Regions from separate parts of the Homo sapiens genome. Here all the other regions are linked to region 1. The links are contacts of gene promoters, found by promoter capture Hi-C in blood cells and fetal thymus (Javierre and others, 2016). All regions are on one chromosome and are shown on one strand. Each heading gives the region's core, a stretch centred on a gene start or on the middle of the fragment in contact. The rest is flanking DNA. Distances are from core to core; before and after follow the strand shown. Region 1 holds the start of U2SURP (U2 snRNP associated SURP domain containing). Region 2 overlaps SLC9A9 (solute carrier family 9 member A9). Region 3 overlaps SLC9A9 (solute carrier family 9 member A9). Region 4 overlaps XRN1 (5'-3' exoribonuclease 1). Region 5 overlaps ATR (ATR checkpoint kinase). Region 6 overlaps SLC9A9 (solute carrier family 9 member A9).

Region 1 (4,752 bases), core at 638-3,137:
ATCTACATTACAAATGAGGGAATTGAGGCTCCAGAGTTTAAGCAATCTGCCTTATTATCGCAAATATAATTAATTACCAAGTCAGGATTTGAACCCAAATCTCTTGTTAACAAAATTCATAATCTTCCCACTACATTATGCAGCCTCCAAATTAGTTAAGATATTCTGATTCCTTTCACAGACATCAGTAAGAAATCTGCTAATAGCATCAAGAGATTATAATCTAAGGCAATATAAACAGAAAAGATTACTGGATAATCCAATAATTTATTTATTGAGAACAGCCATACATTCAGTCATGAGAAGCACTATTTTAGAAGGAAGCCTGAACACAGACATTGAAATGTTTTCAATGTATCCAAGACCTCAAGTAGGGAATACTTAAAATATTACTTTGAGAAGAAACAAAAATTGTGAGGCTTATGCACGACTTGTTATGAACGTAGCTAGCTTTAGTAATAGCTCCCTAACGGTATGTTCTTGTCAGGAGTCTGTTGAGAAGAGTTGGTAGAGCTCGCCCCCAAAGAGAGGGAGACGAGAAAATGTACTGAGGAGGGGGAAAAAAAACTGACACAATACCTTGTAAAGAAGCCGAAACTGGCCCCTCACCAAAGTTTCTATGTAACTAAACGATGTCTGTTAAGACCATTACTAATTATGAATTAATTATTTTGGTGTACATCGTTCACCAAATGGCATAAACAGTCGGATTAGAGAAAGCAAGTAGAAAACGAGTTATGATGTTTCTCAGAACTGTAAACGCAAGCTTCTCTCCTACCGTAAATTTAACTTTCTAATAGCCGATTTACAGTCACACACTCTTTAAGATTTAACAGTCCCTAGCACCTGAAAGTGTTACACAGCTTCTTGCATCAGCATCGGAAAGTTTAACTACCTCGTGGCAGTACCAATTACTTTTAATATATTCGAGACCAGAAACCCAAACCAAAAAACGATTAAATGTCCCGCCCAAGATGGCAACTAAGAACCCAACCGTACTAATGCTTAACTACTACCACAGCTCACTGGTTTCACAATACGTGCCCAGGGTTCCCTGTAAACACAAATGCAATTTACTAATCGTATGTAGCTTACAAGTCTACGGAGCTTCTCTTTTCACTGTTTCTTCAACATAAAGAAAGAGACCACGAGTCCTCTACCCTCAAAAGTGCTTTTTACTTCCCGTTAAGGTAAAGACCACGTGTAGACTGTACATTAACCTTGGCTATGCAGCACTGCAAAGGAGAGCTGCTCCCGCCTCTGCATTTCCCACTCCGTGTCTTTGCCCTAGTGGTCCTCCCCTCACAGCTGGCGACCCTAGAGGTTATTCATTCCTTGGAGGGAAACTGAGGGAGGCCGGAAGTGAGTGAGATCCAAAACCGAGAAAAAAGCAGCAGACATTTAAGCACCGGGAAGCGATTCCCGCCTCTCTCCCAGGCGCTGTCTGGCGGCCTCAGGGCGCAGGAAGCTGAGATACAGGAGAGCGTTTTCACTGCTTCAGACCTCAATCTGAATTCCTGATTTCACTCCAATGCCAAGCGCGGGCCGAAGCACTCACGCCTCCACCCACTGGGCACGCCAGTCTCGAGCTGAATCCCGGCTGGGACTATGGGGAGATACCAGGCCTCTCAACCTGCGCACAACGGTGCGGCGGCGCCCGGGCCTACCGTCGCGACTAGAATGCAGACCCCAATCCCAATCGCCTCTCACAGGCCAGAAGCGTCTGTGGGCCCCAAACGACAGTGGTAGATCCGCTGACTTACGAAATTTTGTCAGAAATTACCTTTGAACTGGCCTTCTGAGATCCGCCTGGCGTTTTGTCCGCCATCTTGAGCTTTGCCCCTCCTTCGGCGGCGGCAGCAGCACGGGCGAGTCGAGCACCGAAAGAGCGGATCTCAGTGAAGCCCGCCAGAGGCGCCTGCAAGGCTGAATAGTCGACTGTCGAGATAGCGACCTTAGGGGCAGCCGCTCACGTGACTTCCGGTGTCAGTAATTTCCTCAGCCGCGCTCACTCCGCTAGTTTTCCTGGGAGTCACGGTGCTTGGTCGCGTTATTGGGTCCGGGAATTCAGAGAATCAGGGCCAGCTGATACTTCACCCTCTTATCCCAACGCCAACCCTTGATAGATGCGAACCAGTCGTATTTCCTTTGTGGGAAAGGAGTCGCTTTTTAAAGACGTGCACTGGCCATCTAGGGAGGAGCTTTTACTTCAACTCAAAATAGGACTGGAGCTGACTGGTGACCTGGCGCTCGATGGACGGAAACGCTGTTCTTGCCGCTTCGGCAGCTCCCATACTGGTGGGAGAGGCAAACTTGCAGTCTGCTCATCTTAAGATGGTGAATGTTGAGATAGGGTTGCTCCCGAAAAGCCGAGAAGAGGAGCCGTTTGACCCAACTTGAGGGTGATCCGATAGACACTCTTTAGGGCGTCTGCAGAGTGGGTGCGCGTGGAGACAGTCAATAAGAGAAAATCGTAAATACAGATGGTATTCTAAATCTAGCATGCATGTAAAGTTGTGTGACATTTTAAAGATTACATTTTACACTTTAGTATTGTTTTCATTTTTAATCACATAAATGGGGGAACACCATATTAAACTTTTCTGAACTTAGTACTTTTTTAAAAAGTTCTTAATCAGGGCCTAGATTCAAAGACGGAAAGCTTGCTTGAGAAGGCCATGCCCGAATCAGGCCAGGCAAGGAAAGAAAGGACATTCCAGACAGAGGGAGTAATTGAGGTAAAAGCCTGTGGCATGAATCAGTACAGCCGATCGTGCAGGTCACCTAAAGCAGTCGTTTTATTAGACCAGGTGTGGGGAGGGACGTGGTTGGACAGGGGTGCGGGTGCAGGTTCACACAGCGCCCTGAGGTCACCATCGTGCTTAGGAGTTAGAATTCTGTTCTCAGAATGAAGATCGGCCTTTAACAAGGTTGAAATGGTCAGATTTTTATTTTAAAGTATTGCTCTGAGGACTAGGGTGGGAGTGGAGGGCGTTTGTGGACCTCTCCCTAAATCATTTATTCAAAATATTTTTGAGCCCCGTTTTGTGTGTAAAAGCCTGCCCAAAGTGTTGTAGGGCTTACAGAGACAGACAAACATGCACTGTCTTCATATGATTTAAAACTTAATGAGAAATGGAGGAGACAAGGAAACCGCAAACTGACACTATGCATAATTAAATTGATGCTGCAAGGAAGGATCAATAGCTGAGGGACCTCTGAAAGAAGTAATTAATTCTGAGAGTAGGAGTGAGGAAAAGAGACGGGGCGGGGCAGGGGGGGGGGTGGTCATAGAGAAGAAAGCATTTGAACCAGCTCTGAAGAAGTAGAATTTTGTTGAATGGCGGGGGTGGGGAGCGAGGGAAGCACTTAGAACAGGATCTGACACAAGGCTGGCTCTCAAGAAAGATTAACAGACATATATGCCAGCCACTAAGGAATCAGCAGGCCAGGCCTCCTATTCTCTGTGAGGGTATGAGGGTAGAAGAACAGACAGTAAACAAGAAATGATCTGAAAGTGACAAGTGCTACACATGAAATTAGAATGACTTGCACCCTCCAACCCAATTCAATTTACTTCTACTGCTGGATTCTGTCATACTTTTTCAGTTCTGGGCCTCTTCCCTCAACCTTGCCCTGCCCTCTCATTGAAGTCTAATCCAATTCTACTCTGGGTGAAGATGTCCCTTCCTCCAGGAAGGCTTACAGTCCTCCCTCCCCACCAATCCTAAATCAGAGACCCTTCTGTTTCCAAGGAACCTATACTTTACCACTTTGAAGAGCTCAGCACACTAGATCTTAACAGGGTTTTGTTTTGTTTTGTTTGTTTTGAGACGTCTCGCTCTGTCGCCTAGGCTGGAGTGCAGTGGCGTGATCTCGGCTCACTGCAAGCTCCGCCTCCTGGGTTCATGCCATTCTCCTGCCACAGCCTCCCGAGTAGCTGGGACTATAGGCGCCCGCCACCACGCTCGGGTAATTTTTTGTATTTTCAGTAGAGACGGGGTTTCACCATGTTAATCAGGATGGTCTCCATCTCCTGACCTCGTGATCCACCCACCTCGGCCTCCCAAAGTGCTGGGATTACAGGCGTGAGCCACCGCGCCCAGCCTAGATCTTAACTGTTTATAGGATTAGAAAGTGAAATCATCAGCTGAGATGAAGAGGAGAAGTGGGACTGGGTATGCCTTGTGGTGTTCTGACAATGCCACAGGCTGATTTTGTCACTAGAAAGTGAATATGTGTAGCTTTTCAGTCAAATCCCCAAAGTCCTACTTATTTTAAAAATAATTTTTACTAAATACTCCTGAAGAGTCAAAAACAAAAGAATGCAGACTTCTTTCCTCTCTTCTTTTTTATATTGTAAGCCCCAAAGCAAGTCAGACAAATATGATGTGACTAGAAATAATACGGGCCTTTATTAAGGGTTAAGTACGCTTTTAAAAATTCAAAATCATTGCCAGGCACAGTGGCTCAGGCTTGTACTCCTAGCACTTTGGGAGGCCAAGGCGGGCAGATCAAGGCAGGCAGATGGCTTGAACCCATGAGTTCGAGACCAGCCTGGGCAACATGGCAAAACCTTATTTCTACAAAAAAATATTTAAAAATCAGCCAGATGTGGTGGCATGCATCTGTAGTCCCAGATAGGAGGCTGAAGTGGGAGGACCACCAGAGCACTGGGAATCTTGCCATTGCACTCCAGTCTGGGCAACAGAGTGACCCTATCTCAGGAAAAAAAAAAAAAAATTGAACATC
Region 2 (4,752 bases), core at 1,561-4,060, 670 kb before region 1:
TTTAATATCGGCTAAGCAGGAAGAGATCAAGATGGTTTTATGCCATATTATAAACAGCAAAAAATGCTCTCATATAGTATAAAGTTTGTGTTCCTGAATTATTTGCTCTGTCATCTATAAAGAAAGTTGGATGACTCTACTTTTAGCATCTAATATTTGGTAGAGAAAGATTGCATTGGTATTGCTGTGAGAGAACAGAAGCAGTAAGAGATATTCATATGTTTTCATTGAATTCCAAGGGGGGAGAAATTACACCTCAGAGGGAGTCAGAGGATGTTAGACCAGAGTACCTCCCACTGAAGCCAGCAGGCTTCTAGAGAGCACAGACGTATCAGCCATTTTTACTATGCAATCTGCATTTCAAACCTGCACACAGTGTCATTTAACAGTACTTGGCTGTATTTTCTGTGTCTTTACAATTCAGTGTTAAGCACAATGGAATAGCATCAGTTTAAAACCCTCTACATAAACCTATGTCTGTAAAACTCCATCATATAAACCTCAATTCTATTCTTGAGCAAATTTACTCAGAAATAAAAATAACAGCTTTGATTTATATTGTTTGACTCTTTCAAAGAGCTCAAAGAGCTTCTACAGACAGTATTTCAGTTATTTTCACATTGTGTTCTTGGGTAGAGAAGACCCATTTCTTAGGTGAAATAATTGAGGTGCAGCAAATTTTAAGATTATCTCAAGGTTTCACGGCAAGTTAATGAAATATAGGTATGGAAGCTAGGAATTCTGTTTCCTTAGATTTCTAGACTGTGTTTTTGCTAGATACTAAACACTAACATCTATCTGAAAAAAAAACTGACTTTTGCTAACTTGCAGCCAGCTTAAAATTATTGAAGCAATGGCTGTACTTGAATCAATATGTAGAAGCAACCCAAAGCCACGGATTGGCAGCAAATTAAAAGCTCCATCTGAATACGTCTACTAGAGAGTATGTTATCTAGTGATAGCAGCCATTAACTAAATGTGTACAAATATATCATCTAATTTGATCATCACCACAGCCGATCAATTATCTCCATTCCAAGCAACAGAGGTTCTAAAAACTTAAGTGGTACATTTACAAGGCTCGTAAGTGGCAGAGATGGGAGACAAATCAGGTCCAATATTCTTTGTCCTACACCATTGCTGTTTCTCAAAATAGAACAGTGATGTGCCAATCAAGCTTTGGAAGAAAATGAAATCCAAGAGTCAAGAGTCAAGTTCCCACTTTATAATTGATTTTATTTAACAAACATTTGTTCATTGCCTGCTATGTCATAGGCACTGTAGGAGCTACTGAGGGAAGGGATAATAAACCAGACACAGGTTCTGCTCTCAGCATGCTCCCAGTCTAAAGAGGGAGGTAGATACGACAACTGGCAGTAGTCTAAAAGACAAGACAGAGGTAATCCAGGCAGCTTTGTAAACACAGAGTACCACCTGGTGGGGAGAAGGCTCTGAGAAAGCTTAAGGTCTCCTGTACCTCAAGCCAATATTTTGCCCAGATGAAGAAGATAACAGCTCAGCTGGAAGAACCATGAGCCATGTTTCTCTCCAGGGCCACAGACGACGTCACCTGCAGAACATTAGCAAGGTCTCCCTGGGCTCAGATACTCTTTGGAGTGTCCTGTCTTGGTAACCCTTAGAGTCACAGTCAAAACAAGGGCATATGCATTTGAAATTATGACAGCCCTCCCCTCATTCATGCAGAGAAGTGTTAAACTCATGATCACTTTTCTTGACATTGTTCTGCCCATTGCACATGCTGCTCTGTAACCCTGCAAAGCACACCCTTGATCCCAGCACTGCATCAGGGCTCCATCCGCATGATTTGGAAAATATACACATTCCACATCTGGAGACTACAGTTTGGAGTTTGGAGTGAGACCCATAGAAATTTAGATGTGGAAGGCCCTTAAAGACAATCTTGCTCAACATCCTCATTTTTAGATGAAGACCCTAAGACTCAGAAAGACAAAGTAAATGGACACAGAATAGGAACTGTTCTTTCCAAATACAGAAGTTCAAGGGAGTAATTTGTGAGAAAGGAAGAGAGATAGAGAAGAGTTTTTAACATTTCTCTGCTTGATAATATCTACTTTTTCTCATTTGAAGTTATTTTTAAGTGTTAAAGGAAAACAAGTAGAAACTGTCATTCCATTTTATACTGGACTGACCCACTAATAGTTTTGATGGCATGAACAATAACAATACAGTAACCACCACTGATGAAGCACTTACAATATGCCAAACATTTTGCATAAATAACTCCAATTAATTATTCTCCAAAAACCTGAAGAAGGGATTATTTTATCCCCATTTTACCAAGGAAGCTTACTTGAAGCTTAATGAGGTTAAGTAGCCTGCTCAAGATCACCAAGTTCATTTGCATAACAGCTGGGGTCTGATCAGAACACAGGTTGGTTTGACATCACAGTCAAGTTTCCAACCACTGTTTTCTACTTTAGTACAGAGTTGTAAATAGCAAGGTCTTGGCACAAAGGTCTTGCTTCAGAAGTTGGAAGCTAGTTATGGAAAGTCACCTCCAGAACAGAATTGGACACAATAATAGATAACAACCAACTATATAAATGCTTCAGGATGTTGAAAGTGGATCAAGCAAGGCTCCAGGTGTTCTGAAGATGAAATTTCGAGAACATACTGAAAACCGTTTGAAGCAGTTCAACAGCTCCATGGACAGCTGGGAAACAGCTGTGGTTGACAGACCTCTCTGGCTCACTGCTTTGGGGAACAGAATGTCTCCGTTTAAATGAAAGCAGTTTATTCTCAGTAATGCTCAAAGACGTATAGGATGGAAGTTTTGAAAGTCAGTGTCCAGCCCACACATTCCATTTATGTGTTAAAGAAGACATTGTACATTGAGACAAATTGGATTCAGTAATTCTTAGAGAGTATTTCCTTGCTGTCTGGTTCTTTTTAGGACTCAGCCAAGTTGATGAGGTCAAAACCATGGAAGAGTGAGGCAACTAGGGAGTAAAATTTAAGAAGGCACTCACTCTCTGGATTATGTAAATGCAGGATCAGCAGTTGTACAACCCTAAAAGGGAGTGCTTTCTTAAGAGAAAGGTACCTAGGATGGGAGAGCAGCCACTAGTCTCAGACTGGGATTTGGTCCTCTTGTTCCATAAAGACTCACAGGTGCCTCTTGGGCAGGATTTCTTGAAAAGCGGCCAAGAAAGGACAAGAATTGACCTTTTGTCTGGGTGCTACAGACAAGGAATTGTGTTGTTCAATTTATTATTTTGCACTGAAATGGAGAAAGCTTTTTGAAACAAGTTCTGTCAGGTCAGTGAGTGGGCAAAGAAGTTCCTGATTACGAGGGCAGAATACAGGAGAAAAGGAGCTGTTCTGATCCTCGAGGAGCTAACCACATGGTGGGTGACCTTCAGAGATTCATTCACTTGTTAATTCATTTATTCAGTAAACAGAATTAATTGCCTATTGCTTTCCAGAAACTATCAAAAGCATTGACAAATGCGCAGATGAACAAACTAATACCAGTGATAATCAACTTTTTAGCCAAAAAGTTCTATTCAAAAAAGGAAGTGAAAGTGTTTATAGGCTATTTATTGGGAGGTGGTTTTTTAAAATGCTACTTTCTTTTTTTATTTTTACTTTTTTTGTTATTATACTTTAAGTTCCAGTACATGTGCACAACGTGCAGGATTGTTAAATATGTATACATGCGCCATGTTGGTGTGCTGCACCCATTAACTCGTCATTTACATTAGGTATATCTCCTAATGCTATCCCTCCCCCCTCCCCCCACCCCACGACAGGCCCCAGGGTGTGATGTTCCCCACCCTGTGTCCAAGTGTTCTCATTGTTTAGTTCCCACCTACGAGTGAGAGCATGCGGTGTTTGGTTTTCTGTCCTTGTGATAGTTTGCTGAGAATGATGGTTTCCAGCTTCATCCATGTCCCTACAAAGGACATGAACTCATCCTTTTTTATGGCTCCATAGAATTCCATGGTGTATATGTGCCACATTTCCTTAATCTAGTCTATCATTGATGGACATTTGGGTTGGTTCCAAGTCTGCGATTGTGAATAGTGCCACAATAAACATACGTGTGCATGTGTCTTTATGGCAGCATGATTTATAATCCTTTGGGTATATACCCAGTAATGGGATTGCTGGGTCAAATGGTATTTCTGGTTCTAGATCCTTGAGGAATCGCTACATTGTCTTCCACAATGGTTGAACTAGTTTACACTCCCACCAACAGTGTAAGAGTGTTCCTATTTCTCCACATCCTCTCCGGCATCTGTTGTTTGCTGACTTTTTAATGATCGCCATAATAACTGGCATGAGATGTTCTCTCATTGTGGTTTTGATTTACATTTCTCTGATGGCCAGTGATGATGAACATTTTTTCATGTGTCTTTTGGCTGCATAAATGTCTTCTTTTGAGAAGTGTCTGTTCATATCATTCACCCACTTTTTCATGGGGTTGTTTGATTTTTTTCTTGTAAATTTGTTTAAGTTCTTTGTAGATTCTGGATATTAGCCCTTTGTCAGATGGGTAGATTGCAAAAATTTTCTCCCATTCTGTAGGTTGCCTGCTCACTCTGATGGTAGTTTCTTTTGCTGTGCAAAAGCTCTTTAGTTTAATTAGATCCCATTTGTCAATTTTGGCTTTTGTTGCCATTGCTTTTGGTGTTTTAGACATGAAGTCCTTGCCCATGCCTATGTCCTGAATGGTATTGCCTAGGTTTTCTTCGAGGGTTTTTATGG
Region 3 (4,752 bases), core at 1,159-3,658, 600 kb before region 1:
GGAAAAGTCCTTTTATTATTAGATTCCTGAGCATTTGGCGTTTTATACTGTTTATAATTCAATGCTCTTAGTAACAACAAAATAGCTGTAACTGATTGGCAAAATATAAAGAAATTCAGAAACATAATTATGTTTTTTACGAGTTAAATAGTTATATGAGATGGAGGACTATGGACAGGAAATATAATTTCTTTTAAAATCCTTTCCCCATGAGGCACACGGTAGGCTTTCTTCACCTAACTATTCTTCTGCCACAGTCCCATCTGGTGCACTGCACCTATGTGACAGAAGAAATAGCTCTCCAGGTCAGTGAGGGGGTAACTCATTTGAATCTTGTTTAGAATGAGGGATTGAGGCGACCTGTGGGTTCTACTTACATAATTTTCAGCATCTGGCTTGGCTAGCAAATCAATGGCCTCAAAACAAAAATAGAAACAAACAAAAGATTCCTGTTCCCTGAGAAAGATAATACCATTGTTCAGGAAATGGTGAGCTTGACAGGTATCTTTTTGTCCTTATTGGTGCCTACCAGACCACACACAGAGAAAACCAAACTCCCTCCATATTAAAGGACAAGGGCAGCAGCAGGCAGCACGCTTCCTCTAACTGGAAAGTGGAGAATGATTTTAAAAACTTGTGTTGACTTGCTTGCTTGCAGCATTTTAATAACATGTAGGTAGGAGGCCACGGGACTTCAGAAAAACAAGTACTGAGCCCCATCAGCAGTGCTTGTTCTTGTAATGTTCCGGGGTAGCATGTGCGGATTTGGAGGAAGACGGTGTCTTTTTCAAAGGAGGCTATTGGAGGAAGTTATAATCACAGTGTAAATAGTGATTCACTGGTACAAAGAATCTGCCTGAGAAAACTGGGTAGAAATTGAACGCTCACTAGCGCCACTAATTTACCCTCCATTAGTGTCCTGAGCTTCAAGTGAAAGCAGGAGGCTCCTCTCAAGGCACAGCTACAGCCCCATCCTTTGGCTCTACCTGGACTTTTAGACACATCTCCTTAATTCTGGAAAAAGACAGGAGTGCCATTACATCTGGGCTTATTTCGTGATGCTTCATGGAAACAGCTGCGTTGCCTGTCTTTGTATGGATACAGTTTTTAAAAATGAAAATCGCCATGGCAACAGCTGCAGCTACTTATTACAGAGCAGTGGAAATGACGCTGGTATCGGTAGGGAAAGCTATGCTCTCAGAATAATGTGTCCCTTATACTGGATTTTACCCACTAACATTTTCATTTAAAAAAAAAAAGATAAAAGTTGAGAATGTGTTCAAAAGCAATTTACCAGGGACTGGAGAGCTCAGGGAATTGGTAAGTGGGTACAGAACCTTTTGTCTGCAGGCCCCGAATTGAGCTGTTGACAACAGCTCTCGATACTGCGATTCTAGGGAAGGCAGCGCCCACTGCTTATGTTTAACCCCACAGTGCCGAATATGCCACTCTACACAGAGTTGCATAATGGCGTTGACAGTGATGATTAGAATGTTAATTGAAGCCAGTTTTCTGCACCTTTTAGCGCCATACCTTCCTTACAGCTTTGATAAATCTCTACATTTGAGACTATAGGAACCACTTGGCTCCTGCCTGCCAGTAAGTGTAAAATAGTTTAAAAGTAAGCTTTAATTTCCTCTTAACTCTATTCTGAGATTAACAACATCTTTCATGGCTGTCAGATCCTGGGGTCCAGGTCCACACCATGCTGAAGTCCGAGGGGAGTGGGTGGATGAGCAGAAAGAACCCTCGGGGGGCCACAGGCGGGTGAATATGGTTTTATTCAGCAGCAGCTCTCATCAACAGCTTTCTTAAACTACCTCTCTCCTGAGCAGCTTTTCTTACGCTGTCCGCTCTGTCTCAGCTGCTTGAATTGGCCACCCCCACGCAAGGTTGCGAGGCCAGTTCTCCCTTGCCTTCAGGGTCAACAGCTTAACTTTCTCTCTTTGAGCACAAACAAGCCTGAGCTGTGTTTTGGCCCCCTCCTGTCTGTCTGCAAGAAGGACAGCTTTGGCTCTCTCTTTCTCTGGACGCCAGCGTGCCCACCATGTCAAGCCGTGTTGAGCCGAGCCGAGCCCCCCAAGAGCTAAGCCCCGTGCACAGAGTCAGCAGGACAGTTATACCTTTTACAGACAATAGTGGCTCCAAGCCAAGCATGAACTTACACGAACAGGCTATATAATAAGTGGAGGTGTGTGCCTGCGCACCAAACTTGCTGACTCATACTCGCCTGGATATCCGCCTCGGCCTTTTCCTTAACCAAAGCACATCCATGTATCTTACAATGGCTCATGCTATATGTTCTGGCACTTTCTTTTTACTGAACATGAAGAAGGTAAGTGAAGAGGAACATAGAAGAAAAAAAAAGATTTACCGTGACATATGTTTAAGACCTCATACAAGGTCTGGGTGTGTGGTGGCTCATACCTGTAATCCCAGCACTTTGGGAGACCAAGGCAGGAGGACTGCTTGAGCCGAGGGGTTCAAGACCAGCCTGGGCAACAAAGTGAGACCTCAATCTCTACAAAAAATAAAACTTAGCTAGGTGTGGTGATGCACACCTATGATCCCAACTACATGGGAGGATGAGGCAGGAGGATTACTTGAGCCCAGGAGGTCGAGGCTATAGTTAGCCATATTCATGCCACTGTACTCCAGCTTGGGTGACACAGCAAGATCCTGTCTTTAAAAAAAAGAAAAAGAAAAAGACTTCATACATTGTAGGGAGAAACCCTGCATTTTGAGTTTTTAATGAGTTTTTAAAATATTCTGTAAGCATGATGTCACATCATTTTAATGATCCCATAGACCATATCCTTGATAAAAACAGCCAGACAATTCGACAGGATCTATCTATGAGGAAACCGAAAAATGATATCAATATTAACTTATGGAAATAATAAAACTTCAAAAAGGCTACAGATAAAAAAGCCTTGAGTATAGCAAGAACATCCATCAAAACCAAAATCCTTCACTCACTTCCAAAGAACTCTGATACCTGATGAAATGACCCAGGTGTGTGTATCTCTCTGTGTATGAGTGTGTGTGTGTTTGTGCACGCACACATACACACACACACGTTGAGAAGAGATTAGGATTTATATTATCTGCTTTATCTCTCACAAATTTCAAATCTCTTTTAAAAAGTTATTCCAAAATTTTTTTCTTTAGCTATGGGCCCTAAAGCTTTAGAGTATGTATTTACCACCAAATTTTCATGTGATCCAGGCTTTACTAAACTATGTCGTACCCTGGTTTGTTTCCCTCTCATCACTCAGACGACATAGAGAAGCCCACGGAGAAAGTTTTTGCCCTAGGCTATAGGAAACATATTGCAAAAACCCTCCATCTCATCCTGGTCCAGAAAAATGACTGAAACATAAAAACATTCCCCCCTCAAAGCCCAGCCACTAGGGATTATTTTAATTTTTTTTACTAAGACAAAGCAGCATATTAGAATCTATTGTACAACAAGGAGTAGGTCCCATCTCCCTCCTTTCTGCTGCCAAACCTGTTCCTCATTTAAACTAACCAAGCAACTGTACACCCAACAGTGCCAGATCGGGGATTAAACACCACTTGAAGGAGTCTTCCCAGAGAAATCTTCATTGCTGTTTTATTGCCCACGTTTATTCCCATATATCCTTTGTCCTGCCAATCATGGCTAATTTTTCAGTCAGTACAAGCTTCTGCCAGTCTTGTAGTTTCTGTCCAGTGCTCTCTCTTGCTCTCACTTCCTCATTTCTATACTTCACCTACATCACCCTAATCAGTTTTTTCATAGCATTGTATCTGATCTTAATTGAGAGACTCAAGAGGAATACAACTCTAACAATCTTGTTTTCACTAAATTAAGCAAGATTGAAGGATGTATTGGTTTAAATCCTGATTCAGGAAAGAGAATGTTGAAAGTAATGCAGCAATAAAGAAGGGAGATACCATTCTCTTCATAAGAAGTCAAAGCATTTCCCTGGATAAGGTAGCCTCAGCAGATGCTTGATAAGGATTGTTGGTAGAAAATGGATCATCACCATCTGAAGTGAAATACATCTTAGTATAATTAATTTTTCATTTAAAAAGATACTCAATTTTGCTGAACTCTGAAGCCAAAAGAAATATGATTTTGTGGGAGGATCTCCCCAACAGCTCAGCAAAGAGGGCCAAATCCACTAGCTCCACTCAGAGCCTCTGCTGATGAGCTTAAGTCACAAGAAACCACTGCCCCATATCCTTGTGTCTTTTGAAACAGAAATCATGCATTCAAAAAGAAGTCTTCCAGGTTCCATTTCTTAGTGACATCCTGTCTAGATGTACTCCAGTCTGCTTTGGTGGTATAGGTTTTCATCATTTTGTCCCCAAAGGAATCTCCATTTGGCAATACATTCTGTTCTGATAGAAAAATAATGTTTTAATTATCTGTACAATTTAGTAGCAGCCAAGGACAGATATACTACTTCCTCCCAGATAACAAGCCAAACATTCCACCTTTCAAACATAAACATTTTGTTGTGCATAGGGGAAAGTCTGGAGGGAAGCGAATCCTTTTCCATTTCTGTTTCAAAGGCTCTTCTTTCTCAGAATAGCCCTTGGGGCCACATTTTTTTTTTCTGGTTTAATATTAAATAAAGAGCCAAGAAAATGTGCAGATACAAGTTAAACTAGATACTTTAGAGACCTTACCAGTGGGGACTACATAGGACCCAAGATAGGAACTTACCGTTTGGGACCACCACATACAACAAACCTTTCGTT
Region 4 (4,752 bases), core at 1,584-4,083, 580 kb after region 1:
ATAAAGATCTTCACTTTTTTTCAGAAAACTTAAGGTACTTTTTTCCCTTAACCTTTAAGGTCAGCAAAGGAGGCAGAAGACAAAATTAAAAAGGCAATAGAGAAGGGAGAAACTCTTCCTACAGAGGCCAGATTTGATTCCAACTGTATCACACCAGGTAAATTCACTGAGAGACAAATTATGACAGAATTGAAATATAAATTGAAAACTTGGTTTTTAAATGTATTTTATTTTCTATGCTCTATTTATTTTGGCCTTAGGGTTCCATTTACTGTATTTTCCCACTTATGTTTGCTCATGAGACGATTTGGTCACCTTGGTCATAAATACTCCTACAAAAACTGTAGGGATTTTCAGATGTAGATAAATTAGAGCAGATATGGACAGGAATCTCCCAGGTGGACAGAATTGCAGACCTTGAAGAAACTTATGTTTATATATCTTTCTGTCCTATTCCTGCCATTTATTTATGTTAAAACAGACTCAGTGAGGTTGTAGCTTATCAAGTTGATGTAGCTAGATTGTGGTAGTCAGAGTAAGAAACTGATTCTCCTAGTCCAGGGCACTTACTACTCTGCTTCTCAAAATTAGTTAAGATTTTTATGACTTTAAGGAAAATGAATTTATCAGTATTATGTTTAATTTTGTATGCAGCAGCATACTCTATATACTTCTACAACCTTTGTCTAACATCATATAATTCTTTACTTTGAATGAAAATCTTAAAATCTAACTTTCTCATCAGTTCTTTACTAACAGTGGTAATTTGCCCTTTCTTTAAGTGCATTGGTCACACATTGCTCAGTTTAACAACCGGTTTTATCCTGATTGTGGTTTTAGACTGTATTGCTTTTGACTGTTGACCATCTGAGCCTTTCCCAAAATGTAATCATTGTAGACTCAGGTTCCAAATTAATAATAATTTTTCAGAATAATAATTTCAGTAGTAATATTATTATTATTATTGACAATCTGATTTAAGCTGCAAGCCTTAAAAAAAAAAACCTTCAGAATTCAGCAGAAGAAATAGAAGGTTGAGGTTCATTAGAGATCTCAAACTCTGCCCTTACATGAAAATTCCTGAAGCACAGTGCTGAGACACTAGTAAAATTCCTTGACTTTCCCTGTGTGACACTGATTCTATTTAGGGGGACTAGTGACATTAGAAACAGTTGTGATATTTGCAAGGGAAAAGTACATTACTTGTTTTTCAGGATAAGCAAGAGAGCTTTTGACCTTCTTTGGAGATCCTATACCTACCTAGCTATTCCCGGCGTACTCAGATTCAGTTATGTGTTGTCACTGAGAACTTAATGTTTTTATGTCTTTCTTAGATTAACCTTTTTAAAACATTATTTTTAGGAACTGAATTTATGGCCAGGTTACATGAACATCTGAAGTATTTTGTAAATATGAAAATTTCCACAGACAAGTCATGGCAAGGAGTTACCATCTACTTCTCAGGCCATGAGGTTATTATCTTTTTTTATTTAAAGAGTTTAAAAAAAGTATTTAATATTCTCAAGCATATACCATATTACTGCATTTTTAAAAACAATTTTATTTAGACTCCTGGAGAAGGAGAGCATAAAATCATGGAATTTATCAGATCCGAGAAAGCAAAGCCAGATCATGATCCAAACACCAGACACTGTCTTTATGGTTTAGATGCTGACTTGGTAGGTATAATTTTTATTATTATAAACTTATGCATTGATAGTTAAATATCTAAGAGATTTCATTTTGTACAGGAAGCTTACTGGCTGTGGCAACAAATATTGGAGACACAATAATGATTGCTACTTCTATCATTACCAAATTTCTAAAAATCATTGGAAAATGAGCTTTTTAACCATAGTTTATTGACCAACAGATCTCTATAATTAGTCTACAGGTGTGACTAATCCTAGTGCTGTGAATACTTTGCCAAGGTCAGAGAAATGGGGCTGCTTTTTTACCCTCAGGCTTAATACTTGGCTTTTAATACCTCCTTATCTGAAAACTCCATGCTCCAGATACCTTTAGTAGACTTTTTGGCATTAACTTTTTATTATGGAAATTTTCAAGCATAAACAAAAATAGAAAAGGTAATATAATGAACATCGTATACCCTTCATCTAACTTAAATAATTTTAAATTTCTACCCCTAATCATCTGTCTCCTCTCCCTCCTACCCACTCCCCGCCCGATTATTAAAGCAAATCCTAAACATTTTATCATTAATTTGTATATGTTTCATAATGTTTCTCTAAAGGATTAAGGTGTTTTTTTAAGAAAAAATATATAACCACAATGCCATCATCCCACCTAAAACAGAAATTAACCTTTTCTTAATATAGAAATAACCAGTTAGTATTATCATTTCCCTGATTGCCTCATAAATGTTTCATTTTGTTTTCTTGTTTGAATCAAGATTGAAATAAACAGTATGCAAGTACATGGCGTTTGATTGATATGTGTCAACAGACTGTTGACTTACTTGGGGTATTAGAATACTGTGTGAGAGGCCGGGCAAGGTGGCTCATGCCTGTAATCCCATCTCTTTGGGAGGCCGAGGCGGCCAGATCATCTAAGGTCAGGAGTTCAAGACCAGCCTGGCCAACATGGCTAAACCCCATCTCTACTAAAAAATACAAAAATTAGCCAGGCATAGAGGCAGATACCTGTAATCCCAGCTACTCTGGAGGCTGAGGCAGGGAGAATTGCTTGAACCTGGGAGGTGGAGGTTGCAGTGAGCCAAGATCGCGCCACTGCTCCAGCCTGGGCAACAGAGCGAGACTCTGTCTCAAAAAAAAAAGATACTATGTGAGAAAATTAACTGGAAGTGCTCTTTTCCATTTTTTTTTTTCCTGAGTTTTCATATACTGGGGCTATCCTGGTCTCCAAAAGAGTCCTGCATTCTTTGGTCATAGAAAAGCTGCTGCCTCTAATTTCTAACCAGTTCCCCCACGGCAAGTAGAAATATGTGAAAACCAAGAGAAGATGTTTGGGATTTGGAGGGATAGGAAGAGGAGAGGGGACAGGGGATAGGGTAATGGTTATGAAAAGCATGTGAGCTAAGGTGAACATATTTTTCTTAGAAAAGTACACTTTATCTCATTCATTACCTACAAATAGATCATATTTTGTTATTTGTATATTTAATGTGCTAATTGTTTCTTATTCTTCCTTGTATAGAATTGTTTTTTAATTGCTTTTGTGAACCTAATATTATTAAAAATGGGAGAATAAAAACATTTCTTAATCATTTTTCAACAGATTATGCTTGGATTAACAAGTCATGAGGCACATTTTTCTCTCTTAAGAGAAGAAGTTCGATTTGGTGGCAAAAAAACACAACGGTAAATTATATAGCATATATGTTGGAAGAAAGAAATTACGCCTGGATAGTAATTCTTTAACAGATACATGTTTGTAAATACTTTATCTCATTCCGTAGGTTGCCTTTTCACTATGTTGATAGTGTCCTTTGATGCACAAACGTTTTTAATTTTGTTATAATCCAACTCATTTATTCTTCTTTTTTTAGGAGTTTTCAAGTTTTAACTTTTATGGTTAGATCTTTGATTCATTTTGAGTTAATTTTAGTGTGTAGTGTAAGGTAAGGGCCCAACTTCATTCTTTTGCATGTGGATATCCAATCTTCCTTGCATTATTTGTTGAAAAGACCAGCCTTAAATGGGCCAGATCTCAGTAGTTTCTTACTTCTACTATATGTTATTTAGGACTTCTTAATTCTGAGAATCCTTCCACAGAACACATAATGTAAACCAATTGTTTTGAACTTTAACATGTATTATCTATTATTGCAATTGTATTTTTATCTTTGTTACCCTGCAACCTTCATATAAATTGTATGCCTTAATTACAAGACCTTACTATCTTCTGATGATACTTTTGATTTAAGCTTTGTTACATTTTTAAGCTGGGACCTTAAAAATAAAATTCACTGTATCTTGATCATCTGACTAATTCCAGGGTATGTGCTCCAGAAGAAACTACATTTCACCTTCTACACTTGTCTTTAATGAGAGAGTATATTGACTATGAGTTTTCAGTATTAAAAGTAAGTATTAATAAAGCCATGGACCAAGGATTTCCATTGCAGAAATTTTCACTGGATTTGACTTTGTTCTCTATTTTACTGTAGGAAAAGATCACATTTAAATATGATATTGAAAGGATAATAGATGATTGGATTTTGATGGGGTTTCTTGTTGGTAATGATTTTATCCCTCATCTACCTCATTTACATATTAATCATGATGCACTGCCTCTTCTTTATGGAACATATGTTACCATCCTGCCAGAACTTGGGGGTAAGAAGAATTTAATAATCTCTCGAGGATACTTTAATTTAGTGCCACCTTACCCTAAAAATGTGACTTAGTTTAGTAGATTATTGCATGCACGCTAAAGCAGAAAAACATTGAGGATTTATTTTGGTCTAAGGTGCTAACCTCTGAGGTTGTCATTTTCAGTGATTCACAAGGAAAGAAAGTGAACAGAGTTAACGAACCTCAATTATTGATATCTAACTAATCTTTGCCTTTTTTTTATTATTTATTTATTTTTTGAGACGGGGTCTTGCTCTGTTGCCCAGGCTGGAGTGCAGTGGCGACAGTGCAACGTTTGCCTTCTGGATTCAAGCTATGCCCATGCCTCTGCCTCCTGAGTAGCTGGGATTACAGGCATGTGTCACCATGCCCAGCTAAGTTCTATATTTTTAGTGGAGATGGGGTTTTACCATAT
Region 5 (4,752 bases), core at 1-2,500, 540 kb after region 1:
CTCATTCTGTTGCCCGGGTTGGGTGGAATACAGTGGTGCGATCTCAGCTCACTGCAACCTCTGCCTCTTAGGCTCAAGCAATTTGCTCACCTCAGCCTCCTGAGTAGCTGGGACTACAGGTGCATGTCACCATGCCCAGCTAATTTTTTAAATTTTTTGTAGATACGGGGTTTCGTCATGTTGCCCAGGCTAGTCTTGAACTCCTAGGCTCAAGCCATTCTCCTGCTCAGCCTTCCCAAGTGTTAGTGTAACAAACATGAGCCACTGTACCCAGTCTATGCTTTGTTTTTAATTTAAGCAGTATTATTCATCTTATTTACTCACTTCATTAGGTACACTTAATTTTGAAGGAGTTTGTTTTTTCAAAAATCAAACTACTTTTAATTGATAAAGCTTGAAAAACAGAGTCTCAGGCTCCGCAGAAAGATCCTGAAAAGATGTTTCAAAAATCTTTTAAACATTTTGACTGCTTTGAAGGGGGGTGTCTAAATTTGAATATGTAAGTACTTGTATTGGCGATGAAGTAATCTTTTTATGTCATAGCTATTTTTAATGGGTGAAAATGTTTCTGTTCATAGACAGTCATTCTTTTCATAGGTCATAGATAATTAAAATAAAAGATTTTTAAAATACAAATTCACTACATAATATAGCTGGTAATATTCTTTTTTTTTTTTTACATAACTCAAGGTTTATAATATATAGACATTTACACAGAAATTTTTGGCCCTAATTCATATATAACTCATCATCTTTTAGGTGGAAATTCTTGCTTCTCTTCAGAAACCAAAGAAGATTTCTTTAAAAGGCTCAGATGGAAAGTTCTACATCATGATGTGTAAGCCAAAAGATGACCTGAGAAAGGATTGTAGACTAATGGAATTCAATTCCTTGATTAATAAGGTTGGGAGATAGTTTGCTTTTATTTTATTTATTTATTTTTTATTTTAAAAAAATTTTTGACTATTATAAAACCAGATTGCTTTTATTTCAGAGTTGCTATAATTACTATCAATCTGATATAGGCATTTTAGTATACAAACAGATCACTCTTAAAAAGCAGGAATGAAATATAAAGTCTTTTTCATTTTCACTTAATTTTTTTATTGAGATAAAATGTACATACATAAAACTTAACATTTGACAGTTTTTGAAGTATATTGTTCAGTGGCATTAAGTACATTCACATTGTTGTACAACCATCACCACCATCCCTCTCCAAAACTTTTTTCATCTTCCCAAATTGGAACTCTGTGTCTATGAAACAATTAACTTCCTATTTCCCTTCTCCTCAGCCTCCAGCAGCCACCATTTACTTTGTCTCCATTAATTTAACCATTTGAGGTACCTCATATAAGTGCAGTATTTCTCCTTTTATGACTGGCTTAAATCACTTGGCATTATTCAAAGTTCATTCATTTTACAGCATGTGTTAGAATTTTCTCCCTCTTTAAGCTGAATAATAGTCTATTGTTTTCCATCCACATTTTATTTATCTATTTATCCAGTGATGGACATTTGGATGCTTCTACCTTTTGGCTATTGTGTTAATATATTTATCAAAAGATAAATAGGCTGGGTGCAGTGGCTCATACCTGTAAGCCTAACACTTTGGGAGGCCCAGGAAAGAGGACCACTTGAGGCCAAGAGTTTGAGACCAGCCTGGCCTATATAGTGAAACCCTGTCTCTACAAAAAATAAAAAAAATTAGCCAGGCATGGTGGCACATGCCTGTAGTCCCAGCTACTAAGGAGGCTGAGGCAGGAGGATTGTTTGAGCCCAGGAGTTTGAGGCTACAGTGAGCTATGATCATGCCACTGCACTCTAGCCCAGATGACAGAGCCAAGACCCTGACTCTTATAAATAAATAAATAGATAAATAAAAGGTAATCATTAGCATTTTTTCAGTTCTGTTGGTATTTGATTTCTATCTCAAAGATGATATGAGGAATCTTATTAAAGGGTTATTATAAATGTATGGTTTTATGTATTTTGAATTATTCTGTAACCAGGTATTTGTAGATGCATAGTGTATGTCTTTTTCCATTGGTAAAAATTGATCTATACTGTGGAAAGATGAAACTTTATTATTTTTCTACAAGCTTTTTTTCCCTTCTTCTCATTGCCTTCCCACATTTTAAAGTCATAGATCTTTAGCATAGAAAAGATATAGCAGTAGATGAGTTTGTTTTTTAAAAAAAGTTATAGTCTGCTTGGTTTAACCAAAAGTAATTTAAAAATTAATACCACATTAAAAAGCTATTTCAAAAGCAATATGAAAAGGAGGATTATTTTTTATTTTAACATATTATTTGGGCTGGGTGTGGTGGCTCATGCCTGTAATCCCAGCTGAGGCGGGCAGATCACTTGAGGCCAGTAGTTCGAGACCAGCCTGGCCAACATGGCAAAAACCTTTCTCTACTAAAAATACAAAAATTAGCCAGGCATGGTGGTGTACGCCAGTATTCCCAGCTACTTGGGAGGCTGAGGCATGAGAATTGGTTGAGCCTGGGAGGCGGAGGTTGCAGTGAGCCCAGATCGTGCCACTGCACTCCAGCCTGGGTGACAGAGTGAGATTCTGTCTCAACAACAACAACAAAAAAGTATTGTTTGTTAAAATGGTACCTTAATTCACTAACTACTGAACCATTAGTATGTTCTCTCCAAAGCTCCCTGAGTTTTTCTGAGTATCAGATTTACTTGAGTATCAAGTGGCCTGGCTTTAGTTTATAAATTTACATTAATCAGCTTTGTTACTTTAATTAAAGTATTTTGTTACATTTTCCCTCATAAACATGGTAAAATAAAATAGCCTGACATACTAACTTAGTTAGTAACATATTTACTAACATAGTTTTGTAAAAAACTATGTTAGTTTTGGAGGCCACACACTGATCTTTATATGAGATTCTATGGCCATATTGTTTTCCTGGTAGTTATGGAACCTATTTCCTAAAGTAAAATGTATTTTTGATCAGTGATTGTGCTTTTGAATTGAGCAGGTTACAATTACAGATGTGTGCTTACTTCATACAGGTCTAGAATTAAACATAATACTGTTTATTTCCACCTGATATATCAGGATCAATCAGATGAAATATGTAAGGCTTTCTTCTGCTAAGGGATAGCTTTAGAAATAAGGTTGTGATAAACCGCAAGAGGAGCAATACATTTTGAGGATGTCATAGAACTCATGCTCTTTTGTTTATGTATTTTAGAAATAATTAAAATTGGCCGGGCACAGTGGCTCATGCCTGTAATCCCAGCACTTTGGGAGGCCGAGGCAGGCGGATCACTAGGTCAGGAGATCGAGACCATCCTGGCTAACACGGTGAAACCCTGTCTCTACTAAAAATACAAAAAATTAGCTGGGCGTGGTGGCAGGCACCTATAGTCCCACCTACTCGGGAGGCTGAGGCAGGAGAATGGCAAGAACCCGAGAGGCAGAGTTTGCAGTGAGCCGAGATTGAGCCACTGCACTCCAGCTTGGGCGACAGAGCAAGACTCCATCTCAAAAAAAAAAAAGAAAAATTAAATAGCAGTCTCTGTGCCTAAAGACTTAATGTTTCAGTAATACCTATAAAGCAATAGAAAATAAAACAGCAGCATTTTGTCATTGTTAAATATACAACTTAAATATTTTAAATACAATATTCTTGTCACATTAATAGTGAATAATTAAAAAGAAGGACCTACCCAGGACATTTTTAATAATCTGTAAATAGATTAGAGATACTGTCCCAGTAGCTTCCTTCCTACCATTCAGAAGAATTATTCATGTATACCACATAGTAAGCCTTCAATGACATTCTTTGGTTATGAAATGAACAATCTTTAAATATATTTGATATAACATTTAGAAATTTTGAGTTCTATCTTGTTTTTAAATTTATGTGTATTTTTTAACAGTGCTTAAGAAAAGATGCAGAGTCTCGTAGAAGAGAACTTCATATTCGAACATATGCAGTTATTCCACTAAATGATGAATGTGGGATTATTGAATGGGTGAACAACACTGCTGGTTTGAGACCTATTCTGACCAAACTATATAAAGAAAAGGGTACTAAAATTAATTCTTATACATATACAGTGTGGGTACTAAGTTATATAATATGGGTATAATTGGTATTAATATATGCTAGCATATGTTTTTTGATATAAGCTATAGTGAAATTTCTAGATTTTATATACAGAAACACTTAAGTGTTTCCATCCCTTCCTTCCTTTCTTCCTTCCTTCCTTCCTTCCATTTTGATTCCTTCCCTGTCTTCATCCCAACAGGATTTGAGGTAGCTTACAAAACTATATATGAATATTTGTTTTTCACAGATATTGGTTAACAATTCTGAAACTATGTATATACAGTACTAGTCTTCAGCAAGTAAGTAAATATGTTGTATAATGAGAGCCAGTTTTCTCACTATTGGAGAAAGGAAGGAGAGAAGGCTAGAATGAAGTCTGACGTTTTAGATTGGAATAAGAGGCTCCAACTGTCCAAACCTGGGATAATTTGAGTAGCAAAATAAATAATGATTGTAAACTATTATAACCCATGGAATAAACAAATAAACATGAGTCCATACTGATATAAACAGATATTTGAGTAAATAAATAAATAGGGAAGTGGGAATAGTTCTTCCTTATGTACTAATAGAATTTCAATGAATAAATGTAGAAAGGATGATGGAAATGGGAAATCAGCAATTAGCAAACACTATAGTAATTATTATTGCAGGCAGTGATTATTAATGG
Region 6 (4,752 bases), core at 1,085-3,584, 520 kb before region 1:
TCTGGCTTTCAGTGTTCTTCCTTCTCCTCCAACTCCTACTCTCCAAAGATCTACTTTCAGTTACAGCCAATTAGCCTTGGCTGTATCACGATCCAGCCTAGCCTGGTGACAATGCCTCTCACCTTGTTCCAAGTGCACACTACCCAGTTCTTGACATCAAGTGCCATGCTCTGTCCTACTAATCCTGCCCCTTACCTCTACCTGGACCACTGCTTCCTGCAAAGCAGTCTTCTCTGTGGTCCTCATAGCCCTTTGGTTGTGCCCCACTGCTGAGGCACTGAGGGAAGAAGGGTTAAACATTGGGAGGGATGTGGACCTATTGCTAAGTCTTGAAGAGTCTTGAGTCTTGAATGTGGTGCTAAGCAGTTTGGCTTTCCTTCGGTAGACAGGAAGGAACCAACCAAGATTTACAAGCAATGGCATGAGCACATCTGTGTTTTAGAAAGATAAAATATAAGATGGACTGAAGCAGGGAATCTATAGGAATATCTTCATTGTATGAGACCTGACAAATTTTGACACAATGCCACTAAGCACATACTATGTGGCACAAAGACAACTAGTCAAGTAAGTGAAAAAACAAACTCAACCTAATGAAGTTCCTTCAACCTTGTGCTACTGTTATCTAATTTTTACTCTCCTGAACCATTAGAAAATTCTAATAATAAAAAACACAAGTTGTCAAGTTTTGTCACGTGTCAATAAAACACTTTAACCATATTAGAGGTACTGTGCTTCAATATGACTGATGTGTTCAGTTAAAATGCTGAAGTTTATGAATCTTACCGTAAAGCTTGAAGAAGAACAGTGGAGATACATTACATGCTATCTGTGAAAAATGGTAAAAATAAAAAGCTAAAATGAAAATATTGAATCTTTGAGAGAGAAATGCAGGCACCGAAATGTGCTATCATCTCATCACTATTCTCTATAGGCTTGTGGATTAGACAAGTCGTATATGTCTAAAACTGCATAGAGGGTGTTTCAGAACTAGAGATGTAAAAAACTTACTTTAAAATAAGAATAGAGCTCTCCAGTAAACCTAATCATTCTCACAGGGCAGATCGGCTTTAAACGAATGTCACACTTATCTATATATAGTCCACAGTTCCCCAGGGGTGCCCAAGCCCCTTACCCCACAAGAAGCTTGATATATATTTCAACACACAGAATAACATATACTTTGCCCTAAGACTTCCTTTTATGCTTGCTAACTTCAGGATCCTCACAATGGCTGCAAACTCCTAATATTTCAAAGACTGTCTACATTAATATCTTTCAAAGCCTCAAACCCTGGCAAGGAACAAAAATTGTTTTTGAATCGGCTTCAAGAATTAATATTAGAGAATAGGAGGTTTTTCCTCTCAGCAAATTGAAGTTGAATAAATTGTTCTCTGTCTCCTTAAAATGGAATTGGTTGCTCGAGGTGAGCTCTGCTGTGAGGAGGCAGGATGCAGCAGCACTGTGAAGGATGATGGCAGGGACAATTTGGGGGACAGGAGGGGGCCTTTCTTCTCTTAAATTAGGGGCAGGTCTGTTTCTTTAAACCTGGCATAGATGCTAAAATGTAGGAAGTAAGTATATTAGCTTGGAGTTGCATTAAAAATAGCTGGAATTGCTGGGCTATTACCACCTCTTTTCTTGTGTTACCAAATGCCCACAGAGCAGCCTGCCCCTAAGCATTCCTGGGCAGCCATTCATGTCCTCATGGCTGTGACACACATGAATTGAAACTTCCATGTGCAGAGACGCAGATGGCTCCCTTCTTTGGAAGGAGAAAACAAACCCTCCAGACTTCCTTTTGGTGCTTCTAGGCATCTGCTTTGCCCACTATCTTCCCCAAACAAGAAGATGTGACTGTGGTTTGAGGGTTTAGCTTCCCCTGTGGATTTAAAAGACCTAGACATCACAGCCACTGGCCAAAAGCTTTCAATGATGGCTTTGATTTAGTTATATCTTTCTGTTTATAAAAATGACTTTACTGCATAGTATATTCATAGATGTAAAACAGAGTAATAAGACTCAAGGACAATTCTGTTGCCTAAAGGCAACCACTGTAACTGCTAATATTTTGACATTTTTTTCCTTCCAGTCTTTTGTAGCTATTTCATTTATCAAGAATAAACTGTATATGTACAATTTTGTATCCTGCACTGTCTGCTTGACAGTTATAACTAAGAATTTCCCCATTAATTTTAATTTCTCTTTTTTCTTTTGTCATTATTGGTCAAATAAATGTAACTAGATATCATTTACTTTTCTTCTCTCACAGCCTGTGGATTTTGATTATTTCATTCTTTCCTGTTTACGCATACATTTAAATCAGATTCCACAAAAACTCACTGACATTATCTAAGTGAAGGGGCATGTTTGAAAGGGACAACATGTTCCTTGGTACTCACAGACTCAGAAATATGCTGCAAGGTTGTGATGACATTTGAATGCTATTTCCAGAGTAAATGATGAAATACTTCCCCAGGAGACACATGGAGCGAAGGGCAGCTTGTGGGATGATTGGGAAGATGAGACTCATATGCTACCTCCACTTTCTAGAGAAAGTATCAGTCACTAGGCTGACAGAGCCAGATTAGAGTCTACACTTGCCACTTAGTTGCTGTGTGATCTTGAATATGTCACTTAACTTTCCTAAGCCACAGAGGCTTCATCTACAAAATGGATCAGATAGAATCTACCTCACACAGGGATATCATTTGGCATATAATCAATGCTTACAGAAGCTTTGTCCTCACTGTTCACAATGAGGTCTTTTCATAGTTGATCTGTATTAATTTAAATGATAATTTATTTTAAAAAGAGAAATAACATTTAACATAAGTCTAAAAAAGATAAGAACTAGTTCTTAAATTAACTTCATCCTCCTTTGGTTAGCATTTTTTACATAGGTAACCCATATTTTGCCTAGGCTCGCTATTTCTTTTGACATCTATATAGCATTCAATATGTTTTGTTCATTGTCTTAGTCTATTTTTCATTGCAATAACAGAATACTTGAGACTGAATAATTTATAAGGGAAAGACTTTTTTAGCTCATGATTCTAGAGGCTGGGAGGGCCAAGATCAGGCAGTCATCTTTGGCTAGCTTCTGATGTGGGCTTCATGCTATGGCATCGTAACATGGCAGAAAAGCAGAAGGAGAAATAGACATGTACAAAGAAGCAAAACAGGAGAGGCAGGCTCACTTTATTACAACGTATTCTCATGAGAACTAACCCAATCTTGAAAAATAGACATTAATCCATTTTAATCACTTCGTAAAGTCACTACCTTTCAACACTGTCTCACTGGGAACCAAGTCTCAACATAAGTTTTAGTGGGGACAAACCATATTCAAATCATAGCTTCATCTTGATAGAGATGTATACTCTTAAGAAATCTAACTAAACAAATTAGTCATAATGATAGGGGCTCTGGAAAGTCTGAATGATTTAGTGTAGATTAAATTATAGGGCCTTATTTCAAAAAAATATGCATAAGCTGATTTTAGTACTGTCAAACATTTTCAAAATGGCCATTGACCTATAAAAAAGAAAATGTAGTCACGGCACGATCTTCTCTGTTTATTAAAGCTGATCTGTTTCTCTCTCTGCATATTCTCTATTCTCATCTCTCCCTGGCCATATTCACTGACCATCTTGCCCTCAGCTTGACAGAGACAACTGAGGCCATCAGTTGGATAAGAAGTCTATTAATCTTGATCTCCCATCTCAGTTCAGCCTCTATCCCTCTCCTCTTCTATCTCAGCAGGGTCTTGGATCTCAGTGAGTTGGGTCATCCTTTCCATCCCCCACCCCCATATTTGTTTCTTCAGGCTGTTAGATCTCTCTTAGTTTTTTTTTTTTCTATCTTCAGTGTAGCATTTTTCATTGTAGATAATAGGAGCATTCTTCAAAACCCCTCTCTTCACTTGGTTTCTCTGAAACACCCAGCCCTTTCTTGATCTTCCTTCTACATTCTGGTCTTCCTTTCTCAGTCTTCTATCTGACCTGCTAAGGCATTAAAGTCTACATTCAGAAAGGACCACAGAATCCTGTTCTTTCAGCATGTCAGAAAATAACAGTACCATTAGATATCATTGTTTGACTTAGGTGGAAGAGACATTTATATTCAAATCTTTCTTCGTTTTATATAGCTTATATGGCGGAATTAAAAATAAATATATTTACCATCAGTATTTTATTACATTTTTATTGCTTACTTACCTTAGGTATAGAGAATATTCACAATGTTGTCATGATTTATTGTCTTCCAACAATTATTAATTGGGAATCCCTATGGGCTGGACATTAAGAGGATTATGGAAAAATATAATGATAATGATTACCCTTCATCGATCCTTTCATGTTTGCCAGAAAGGGAAGTATATAACAAGTTTGCACAGTAGGTATTAAATTCTCCAATTTTACATAAAATGACGTTGGGACTTCAAGTTCACAAGTTCACACAGCATGCAACCGAAGAGCTGGGATTCACGCTGTGTCTTCCCACCTCAACACTTTCTTTATATGACTTAACACTAAGTATAAGAGATCTTAACAGGTACAAGTTATGAGGAGGAGTGATTACTATGATTAGCTTGGAGTTTTGATAAAACTAATTATATAATTGTTTTTACTTATTGATTTTTTCTGAAATTAACAAAAATATGAAGTTCTTCAGGGTCTTGGAGTATTGTAAAAGACAAAAAGCTATTTCTATACAGATTTTTCATTTCAATGTACAAGTTGATTTCTT

Evidence for each region. Contacts are between HindIII fragments. The CHiCAGO score rates a contact against its expected background, and 5 or more counts as called.
Region 2: a contact is called between a fragment that was not itself captured here and the fragment with the promoter of U2SURP in region 1, in 6 of 17 cell types (total B cells, naive B cells, fetal thymus and 3 more). The highest score is 16.1, in total B cells.
Region 3: a contact is called between a fragment that was not itself captured here and the fragment with the promoter of U2SURP in region 1, in 1 of 17 cell types (naive B cells). The highest score is 6.2, in naive B cells.
Region 4: a fragment that was not itself captured here is called in contact with the fragment with the promoter of U2SURP in region 1 in 1 of 17 cell types (naive CD8 T cells); the score reaches 5.2 in naive CD8 T cells.
Region 5: a contact is called between a fragment that was not itself captured here and the fragment with the promoter of U2SURP in region 1, in 1 of 17 cell types (naive CD8 T cells). The highest score is 5.2, in naive CD8 T cells.
Region 6: a fragment that was not itself captured here is called in contact with the fragment with the promoter of U2SURP in region 1 in 1 of 17 cell types (total B cells); the score reaches 5.4 in total B cells.

Annotation. Positions count from the first base shown.
Region 1 is chr3:142,998,705-143,003,456 of GRCh38, reverse strand. U2SURP (U2 snRNP associated SURP domain containing) reads right to left here and starts at 1,887. Exons shown (of 28, transcript NM_001080415.2): 1 at 1,784-1,887. The coding sequence starts at 1,828. It overlaps PAQR9-AS1 (PAQR9 antisense RNA 1), which reads right to left. Exons shown (of 5, transcript NR_125393.1): 5 at 2,367-2,430. LOC100289361 (a long non-coding RNA gene) reads left to right here and starts at 1,990. Exons shown (of 1, transcript NR_034032.1): 1 at 1,990-2,612. RefSeq lists enhancers at 1,526-2,175, 1,450-2,449, 3,449-4,449. The HindIII fragment of the contact is 1,896 bases long and covers 769-2,664 here.
Region 2 is chr3:143,667,367-143,672,118 of GRCh38, reverse strand. All of the region lies in intron 5 of SLC9A9 (solute carrier family 9 member A9), which reads left to right. Among named protein-coding and RNA genes, the nearest start is that of SLC9A9, 180 kb to the left of the region's middle. RefSeq lists an enhancer at 2,652-2,701. The HindIII fragment of the contact is 939 bases long and covers 2,341-3,279 here.
Region 3 is chr3:143,594,615-143,599,366 of GRCh38, reverse strand. The region is part of intron 6 of SLC9A9 (solute carrier family 9 member A9); the gene reads left to right. LOC124906294 (a long non-coding RNA gene) reads right to left here. Exons shown (of 3, transcript XR_007096123.1): 3 at 4,099-4,389. Among named protein-coding and RNA genes, the nearest start is that of SLC9A9, 250 kb to the left of the region's middle. The HindIII fragment of the contact is 1,560 bases long and covers 1,629-3,188 here.
Region 4 is chr3:142,422,149-142,426,900 of GRCh38, reverse strand. It overlaps XRN1 (5'-3' exoribonuclease 1), which reads left to right. Exons shown (of 41, transcript NM_001282857.2): 3 at 60-157; 4 at 1,363-1,472; 5 at 1,569-1,679; 6 at 3,259-3,341; 7 at 3,979-4,066; 8 at 4,151-4,319. Among named protein-coding and RNA genes, the nearest start is that of XRN1, 24 kb to the left of the region's middle. The HindIII fragment of the contact is 2,152 bases long and covers 1,758-3,909 here.
Region 5 is chr3:142,461,248-142,465,999 of GRCh38, reverse strand. ATR (ATR checkpoint kinase) reads left to right here. Exons shown (of 47, transcript NM_001184.4): 41 at 760-903; 42 at 3,910-4,060. Among named protein-coding and RNA genes, the nearest start is that of XRN1, 16 kb to the right of the region's middle. The HindIII fragment of the contact is 1,709 bases long and covers 396-2,104 here.
Region 6 is chr3:143,523,289-143,528,040 of GRCh38, reverse strand. All of the region lies in intron 9 of SLC9A9 (solute carrier family 9 member A9), which reads left to right. Among named protein-coding and RNA genes, the nearest start is that of SLC9A9-AS1, 180 kb to the right of the region's middle. The HindIII fragment of the contact is 812 bases long and covers 1,929-2,740 here.